2 separate regions of the Homo sapiens genome follow, and region 2 is linked to region 1. The links are contacts of gene promoters, found by promoter capture Hi-C in human tissues and cell types (Jung and others, 2019). All regions are on one chromosome and are shown on one strand. Each heading gives the region's core, a stretch centred on a gene start or on the middle of the fragment in contact. The rest is flanking DNA. Distances are from core to core; before and after follow the strand shown. Region 1 holds the start of ZNF18 (zinc finger protein 18). Region 2 overlaps MYOCD (myocardin).

Region 1 (4,624 bases), core at 23-2,522:
CAGCTTTAGCTCAGAGGTAAACCTACAGTTTCAAATAACATCTTAAAAAACGAATAAATATATTTTTAAAAATACCTTGCTTTGTAAATCCAACCTATTTGGCTCAAGAGTTTCAAATAACAAGCGGCAAGATTTTAGATAGCAAGATACCGACCTGTAAACTTACTGCAATTTATCTGTTTCCTAAATTAAGATAGCAGTTTAGATAATATTTAAGAGAAATGACATTTTGGAAAAACTACAGATTTTATAAAATACTTAAATCTTTTGTTAGTAATATTATACTCCCAGGTAGTGTGTAAGAAAAATGTCTCGATTATTCAAAATTAAATTACTTTATATAGTATTAAAAATTTAATAGAGTTTATATTCCGATAACCTCATGAGGAACTGCCCCCATTAGTTATGAAAAAAAAATAAGGTTGTCTGTTATACCTGTTATTAAACCTTTAACAAATAGAATGAATTTTTAAAAGTGCATTCTAGGTGTAATATACACAAGTGGTTACATACATGGTTACATATATAAGTAACCATTTGTTAAGCACCTACTACGTATCGGCTCATTATTAAGCTCGGTTCATGTATTTCCAATTCCCACAATTACCCTGGTGTACAGATCAGGAACCTCCGAGGCTCACAAGTGGCAGCCAGATTAACCCAGGAAGCTCTAAAGCCTTTGCTTTGGGGAGAACTGCCAACGTCTGGTGATTTGTTGGGGCGTTTTCTGGTTGTCACAAGCAGCTAGGGGAACTGGCATTTAGTGCTCGAGGCCAGGGCAGCGCTGCTCATTGGATATGTATTCTCCACCATGCGCCCCCCAAATGCCGACTGCACTCTGATGAGAGAGGGAGAGACTCCAGGCATCATCCCATCGGGTTTCCTCTTCCAGAGACTCATTTTCAGCCCTTAGGGGAAGACAGCGGGGAGGAGCCCGTTTTCGGTCCCAGTGCAGAGACCCGGCCGGTCCCGCGGGGCGCAGAGGCGCAGGAATGCAGAGCCGGGACGGGGTTCACACATCCCCCCGCACCCACGGTCCACTCCCAGCCATGGCTGCCCCGGCCCCGCACTCGCCACGTCCCCCGCGCGCTCCCAGACGCATGGGCAAGGGAGCCCGCTGGCCCCTCCGTAGCTCCGGGGTGCCCAGCTGAGTCAGGTGCGGACGCAGATAGCGCAAGGCCTGACCCCGAGCGGCCGGAGGCCGGGACCGCCCCGCAAGCGCGCTCACCTCGGCCCGCGGCGCCGGCTCCGGGCGCACTTCCGGGAGCTGGGTGGCTGCGCGCGCCTCAGGCGGCAGGCGAACGACGTGCGGCACCGGGCGGAGCTAGGGGGCGGGGGCGGAGCTGATACCGAAGCTCCTATTGGCCGTCGGGGACGCCCCGCCTCTCTCTGGCGTTGCAGCCCAGGAGCCTCCACCGACATGGCAGCGAGGTTCCCGAGCCAACGCCATCCTCCGTTCCTTCCGTCACTCACTCACTAATCACTGTTCCTGAGTTCCTTCACTTCTCACCCGTCATTTATTGCGCACCTATTCTGTGCCAGGCACTCGGCCAAGCACTGCGAGGCCTTCAAAGATCATTTCTTTGTCTCTCCCAAACCCTTCCGCCCAGTCCCACCCGCAGAGCTGCAACGCTCTGCCATTATCCCTGATTCTTAACCGCCGCCTTTCTCCTTTCCGTTCTTGCCTCACTGGGCCTCCCTGAGACACTTGATTTGCCCCAACCTTCTTCCTCTGTCTTGGTTCTCCCACTCTCATCAGCTCTGCATCCCCTGGGTCCTCTCCCACTTCTCCCCATTCCGTTGGGGCTAGTCCAATGTGGTGCCATCCTCTTTCCACCTGCGTCTCTCTCTCTTCTCTCTCTCTCTCTCAACAAATGTCATCCCTGACTCTTCCCTTCTCCTTCCCTTTCCCACACGCCAACAATGGCTGAATCCTCTGATTTGACCTCATTGTCTCTCAGACACCTCACCCTCTCTCCCTTCTCACTATCCCTCCCTCGGCTCAGTTCCACACCATTTGTAATGGTCAAGACCTTCTTACCCTTTCCCCAGCGTCCAGTGTTGCCGGTTTCCAGGCCATCCTGTGCTGGGCCACGACATCAACTTGTGATACTAAGTTGCATTAATGGAAGTATCATGTCAAAGTTTGGGTGTTCCACCTTGGGCAACTGGCAAAGAGGAGGGTATTCAAAAAAAGCTGCCATGTTCCCCAATAACCTATGGAAATAAAATAAATAAAAAATAAAAATTTAAAGAAGAGCTGTCATTATCATAACATGTCCTGTACCTGTCATTATCATAACATGTCCTGTACCTGTCATTATCATAACATGTCCTGTACCTGTCATTATCATAACATGTCCTGTACCTGTCATTATCATAACATGTCCTGTACCTGTCATTATCATAACATGTCCTGTACCTGTCCCATGTTTACAAGAATTAAAGATCCTCCTCTGGAGAAATAAAGCTTGATGCGGGGATGGGATTACATCTTCATGTACCTGAAAAGTGACCAGCGGAAAAGGGATTCGACATGTTCTCTTAAGTCCCAGGGTCTGAACAAGATCCTATGTGTGAAACTACTGTTTCAGCCTGACATAGGTGGAAGTTTCTAGTCTTTTTTTTTTTTTTTTTTTTTTTTTGTATTTTTGGTGGAGACGGGGTTTCACCATGTTGGCCAGGCTGGTCTCGAACTCGTGACCTCAAGTGATCCACCCACCTTGGCCTCCCAAAGTGCTGGGATTACAGGCATGAGCCATGGCACCTAGCTGGACGTTTCTAACATTCATGTGATTGATGGCGCTGCTTTGAGTTCCTGAGGACAGCATGGCTAACAATTTACCAGGCACATTTAGAGGGACACCTTCATTGGGTATTGCTTCCAACATCAATGTGCTCTGCTTCTAAGAAAGTCAAGAGATAAGGTGGTTTAGAGGGGAAGATTATAGGAGTTTTATCTTCAATGTGTTCGCTTTTAGCTGATCAACACCCAAGGAAGATAACAGTAATTCAAAACCATTAATTGGGTTCTGACTCCTTTGTGAATCTGATGGAAGGTAAAATTTTTCCCAAGAAAAATGCACATACACATCTACATACAACACTTTGCACTCAAATCCAGGGAGCTAACACAGCCTTGAAACCCATCCTTGGAACCCACAAACCTCAGTTTGAGAACTCTAATCCTGGTAGATGGTTCCTGATATGAAAATGACACTTTGAAGTTTAATAATTTCTTTATAAACTGGCACCTTAGGAAAAGGCATAAACACTTATTTCGAAACAGGCTGAACAATCAAAATATTTTTTAAAATAGGGAGATATCTACCTCAGCTTAGGAAATAATGAAAAGGTGTCATCTATTTCTATTATTCACTTACTCATTCAATAAATATTTACCAGATGATGTGCCCAGCACTCTTCCAATAGCTATATATGCAAGAATGAACTAAACACACAAAGTCCCAGCCCTCCCAAGACTTATATTTTGTAGGGTGAGCTGGACAATAAATAAGTGCACAAGTGGTAATTATAGGTGTTGTGAAGAAAATTACATTGGGGTAAGGAGGAGAGGTACTGTTAGAGATGGAGTGCAAGTTATATAGGATGGTCAGGGAAGGACTAACAGATAAAACAGGCTTGAATCCAGACCGGAAGTTAATTAAGACGCAAGCCTTGCGTGTATCTGTGGGAACCTCCAGGCAGAGGAAATTGCAAAAGTTTTTGTTGTTGTTGTTGTTTGAGACAGAATCTTGCTCTGTTGCCCAATGTAGTGCCAGAATCTCAGCTCACTGCAACCTCCGACTCCAGGTTTAAGTGATTCTCCTGCCTCAGCCTCCTGAGTAGCTGGGATTACACATGCTTGCCACCGTGCCCAGCTACTTTTTGTATTTTTAGCAGAGATGAAGTTTCATCATGTTGGCCAGGCTGGTCTCAAATTCCTGACCTCAGGTGATCCACCCACCTCAGTCTCCCAAAGTGCTGGAATTACAGGTGCGAGCCACCAGGCCCACCCATAAACGTTTAGGCCATGAAACAATGAGTGACAATAAAGAGAAGCACTATAAAGACCAAGCCCTGGACCACGCCAACATATAGGGTCAGGGTAATAAGAAAAATCTATTAAAGGAGAAAGAAACTGAGGAGCCACTGAGGTAGCAGGAAAACAGAGAGTGGTATCCGGGAAGCCAACTGCATAAAGTGTTCAAAGAAAGAAGGAATTGCTGGGTGTGGTGGTTCACGCCTGTAATCCTAGCACTTTGGGAGGCCGACATGGGCAGATCACCTGAGGTCTGCACTTCGAGACCAGCCTAACCAACATGGAGAAAACCTGTCTCTACTAAAAATACAAAATTAGCTGGGCGTGGAGGTGCACGCCTGTAATATACAAACTGGCACCTTAAGAAAAGGTATAAACCCATAATCGCTTGAGCCCAGGAGGCAGAGGTTGCAGTGAGCCTAGATCACACCATTGCACTCTAGCCTGGGCAACAAGAGCGAAACTCTGTCAGAAAGAAAGAAAGGAAGAAAGAAAGAATCATCAACTAATCAAATGCCATGATCAAATGTAAGATGAGGATTAAGAATTGACTGAGCAACAGGAGTATAAAATCACTGGTGA
Region 2 (4,713 bases), core at 60-2,559, 680 kb after region 1:
GAGTGCAGTGGCAACATCTTGGCTCACTGCAACCTCCGCCTCCCAGGTTCTAGCGATTCTCCTGCCTCAGCCTCTCGAGTAGCTGGGACTGCAGGCGTGCACCACCACGCCCAGCTAATTTTTGTATTTTTAGTAGAGATGGGGTTTCACCATGTTGGCCTGGATGGTCTCGATCTCCTGACCTCGTGATTTGCCCGCCTCAGCCTCCCAAAGTGCTGGGATTACAGGTGTGAGCCACCGCGCCCAGCCTATCATTTCTTTTTACCCCAGATTGTGCTTGAGAGTTATGAAGATAATTATTGTCATTATATAACTTATATTGTATTTTGCAAAGTGTTTTATATATCTATCATCACTTATTCTTTTCCTTTCAAAAAAAAAAAACTGAAAAGGCATAATAATTAAACTTATTCTCCGGTGAGGTGTGGTTTTTATTCTGGATCTGGTCTTTTGATGCCTCTGAAGACAGTGCCAAGCCTTGTCTGGGTCTCAGCAAGATCATTACATGCTATGAGGACCAGCAAAGGCTCATGGCTGAGCCCAGATCCTCTTCTCTTATAATTGAGAATGCTGTTCTGTCTAAATATAAAACCAAAGAGAGAGAGAGAGAGAAAACAAAGTTTTGAGGATAGACAGCTGGAGGCAGTCTGCCAAATTATAGCACCTCTTATTTCTTTGATGTATTCAACTCTCTCCCCCACCAAAAAAGATCATATTCATTAATATTTTTATTTTTTTGTTTTCTTCTTATTATTATTTATTATTATTATTTGAGATGGAGTCTCACTCTGTCACCCAGGCTGGAGTGCAGTGGCGCGATCTCGGCTCACTGCAAGCTCCACCTTCCGAGTTCATGGCATTCTCCTGCCTCAGCCTCTGAAGTAGCTGGGACTGTAGGCACCTGCCACCACACCTGGCTAATTTTTTGTATTTTTTTAGTAGAGATGGGGTTTCAGTGTGTTAGCCGGGATGGTCTCAATCTCCTGACCTCGTGATATTTTTCTACCAATTCTGTGAGATTACAAGTTTGATTGTACAGATGAGGTTACTGAGTTTCCAGAAACATTAAGAAATTGGCTCAAGGTCACCCAGCAGATTCAGACCTAGAACTCTCGTCTCGGGGCTTGCAAAACCAAATTTACCACATGGTCCCCCAGAGAAATGCGCAGCCCAAGGGAACATGGTCTTTTCAGATAGGCAGATGCCTGGCATTTAACCTATTTCCTCTCTCAACCTAACAGTCCGTCTGCTTAAAGCTTTTTTTTTAATTTAATTTTTTATTTTAACATGGTAGCCATCTGCACTGGCTTCAAGATTGAAAGAATTAGATGAGAAGGGGAGATGGAAATTCAGCAAATGTAACTCAGGATTGGCTGGGAGAGGAGGACAGAATGAGGCATAGGGATAGCAAAGGAATCCCTGGCTTAGTAGAAATGCAGCCTTCACAAAGGATTGTGTTCTTAACACATAGATTAGAGCATGACACTACAGAATGTCCCAGAGACAGAAAGTATTCTCAAGCATCATGTTTGGTTGTTTCAAAACCTTGTGTCTAACAGTAGAGCCAGGATTATTTTCTAACATTTAAAGAATGGTTAATATACCTACATTTATATATATGTATATGCATATGTTTGTATATGATATATAACATATATATAGTATGAGAGAGGTAAAGATTATCTTTGAGGATGCTCTTTGCAGTGGTATATGTGCTACAGTAACACCGAGGGAAAAACTGGAGTTGGTTAACAAAAAGAAAATATTTAAATACATAAAAAATGGGATTTAACATGCACTTTAAATATCGTGTTTTCAGAGGATCATGAGATGCAAAGATGTTTACAATGCAAGAAGGAGGTTTCAGAATTGCATATGATATAGTCCCAATTCTTGAGAAATTGTAGGGTAGGTACCTTTTTATATCCATGTTCAGGTATATGAATCAGAAGAAAAAAGGCAAAGTATTAGCAGGTGCTGCTTATCTCTGCAGACTTGAATTCCTATTAATTTTGCCTTTCATCCTGAAACTTTTATACATTTTTCAAATTTTCTATAATGAACACGCACTTGTTTTATAGTCAGAAAAGGCAATACATGCTTTAAATGCTATAATAGAATAGTATATATCACAAGCTTCACTTAGGCTCTCAAAAGAACGTAAACCTGTATTCAAGAACCACAGCCCCATGGAATGAAGACTCTCCTCTTAATTTTAGAAGAACTTCTTTGCCTCATAAAATACACCCTTTCTTCCAAACTCTAATTCTCCTTTATATCTAATTTTTATTCAGCTACTTAGTGGATGCCCACGGTTAACCTCATTAATCTTCGTATGGTAATTTATTAGGGATAAAGGGCTCTTAATTTGACCACTATAATTACCCTAGAGGTGAGTATAATGACGTCTGTCTTACAGGGATGGGAAACTAAGGTATAGAAACGGGAATGACCTGCCCGAATTTACACATACAGCATGGTGAAGCACTTGAACTCAGATCTCCTGGCACCCAATCTTGTGGCCTCTCTCGATGAACAAGCGAACACAAGAAGGCGTAAATCTGAGTCCCTTTGTCTCAGGCATCTCTGCAGCAATAGCTTTCAAGGAACGCAGGTCAAATGGCAGGTCCTTTTCCCGGAGGCCCCTCCCACCGGCCCCGGGCGTGTGTGCGCGCTGTCTGCTTAATTCACTCATGGCTCTGTGCCACAGAATACATAAACAAGTGGGGAAAGCCTCAGAGAGGAATCTTGGTGCCCAAATGGAGCAATTTGTCTTCTGAAATTATTGTTTGAAATTGTTTATGTCAGTTGCCGAGTTTCTGTTCTGTACTTCAGGGACCTGTTTGTGATGGAAGGAAAAGTTCCCCGCGGCTGAACAGCCGTGCTAGTTGAACACTTGTAGTGACAGTGTTGTCAGCTGCTTCCCAGTCCTCCCTGACTTGGAGAGGGTTTTGATGAGGTTCCCTACACCCCAATAGAGCACCCCAAGAACTATCTGATGCTCACATGCCTGCTGCGTGTGCTAACTAATTTAATCCTTACAGCAATCCTGTAAGGAGGTACTGTTGTTACAGTCCTCCCATCCATAGAAGAAGAAACCAAGCCTCCAGCGCTGAAGGAGCTATCTCAAAATCCCATGCCTTGTAAATGGAAAAGCTGGGACTTGATCTCATGCACCTTTGGATTCTAAGTCCATGCTTGTGACTGCTACCCTGTACTGCTTCGCACAAGTATCCGAACCAGTCAGAGCTGGCTTGAGCCATCTGACTTTGCCACCCCATCCTCCCGGTGAGCATGTGAATTGTGGATTCTGCCCTCTTAGTGACATCGTAAGGCATTTCCACTTGAGGTTTTTCTTCCCTATTCCTCTAGTGTCTTGAGTTATTTTAACATGAAAGCCTCAAGCTCACAAACCTGGCAGCTTTGTGAGTGAGAGAGAATTCCTTTTGAGGCATGAATTAGTCTTCTTCAAATGTTTTGACAAACTGAGAGTGTGGTGCTTAGGGAAAGAATAGCTTCGCAGTGTTCGTGTGAACAGACATCTTTCTAAAACAACTTGAGCCCATGCGTGAGGCTCAATCATTGAAATCACTGCATGGTAATTCTGAGACCGAGCCTTTTGGCTTTCAGTATTCTCTTGGTTTTGACTCGCCAAATGCCCAGCACTAGATGCTGGCCTGAATTCATATCTCTTAATCTCCCTAAAGGAAGCAGAGCCGGGACATCCCTTAGGATGAAGAAAGAACAGTGTGTACCTGGTCTCAGCCCCCGCTGCTTGAGTGCTCTCCTGTAAGAGTCACTGAGGCCAGGCCAGCCCAGCACCCCTCAGAGCTCACCTTGTTCCTTGAGACCATCGAGGGCTACCTCAGTGACCTGATCATCATTTTCACCTCGTCCTCTCTGAGTACTCCCTGCAGTAGATGAGCAGACAGTCAGGCCTATGTTATTCTTGGTCAGTGAATACAACAGATAACAGCATGCAGGGCAACATTTGGCTAGGGAACAGTTATCATTGGTACCTGGAATCAGAAGGCAAGGAGCAAATTGAGCTCAGGCATTAGCACTCCACACAAAAATCATCCCTGGCTCTCAGCCTTGTTTGGGAAATGTGGCCAGGATTAGGGCAAGACCGACGCAGATAACCAGGTCTCTCATTTCACCTTCTCCAAGCATTCTGTCAGCCACCCTCTTCTCTTTACCGGGAAATTCGATGCTTCTGTACCCCAAAGAGGAACATGTCAGACCCACAGATGACACGGGCCACTGGTGGGGAACGGTGGCTTTGTCCTAGAGTCAGATAATGCCAGGCAAAGGAAAGAATTTGGTGGGTGAACCATGCACAGGAAGAGCAGAGGAGAGTTGTACATATGATGTGTGCCACACAGTATCAGCTTCCAGCTCTGGAGGAGACCAGAAGCCTCTGATGGTGGTCCTGCTTGTTACTTTCTAGGAAGTTATCCATTCATCAGCCAATAGCTTTCCCAAAGACCTATGCCTGGTAGTGTCCTTGAAGGCAATAATGTCAAGGTCAAAGATTACATATAAGGATGCGTCCAGCTAAACCTAGGGTAGGATTCAACAGAAAAGGGAAGGTAAAAGACTAAATTATAAACAGGTACCACTGCCCTTTTCGCGGAGAGAGTTTTCAGGGGGCTCATGCTCTGTTGTATCCAGGGTTTGTGATCTTGACCTGGCACCATATGGAGAGGATGC

What was found. Contacts are between HindIII fragments. The study calls those that stand out against the background at their distance.
Region 2: a fragment that was not itself captured here is called in contact with the fragment with the promoter of ZNF18 in region 1 in 1 of the 25 tissues and cell types used here (aorta).

Annotation. Positions count from the first base shown.
Region 1 is chr17:11,996,203-12,000,826 of GRCh38, forward strand. ZNF18 (zinc finger protein 18) reads right to left here and starts at 1,273. Exons shown (of 7, transcript NM_001303281.2): 1 at 1,229-1,273. RefSeq lists a silencer at 972-1,421 and enhancers at 1,354-2,337, 1,452-1,691, 1,762-1,841. The HindIII fragment of the contact is 7,782 bases long and covers 1-4,624 here.
Region 2 is chr17:12,677,942-12,682,654 of GRCh38, forward strand. The region is part of intron 1 of MYOCD (myocardin); the gene reads left to right. The region is part of intron 2 of MYOCD-AS1 (MYOCD antisense RNA 1); the gene reads right to left. Among named protein-coding and RNA genes, the nearest start is that of MYOCD, 14 kb to the left of the region's middle. The HindIII fragment of the contact is 4,406 bases long and covers 1-3,512 here.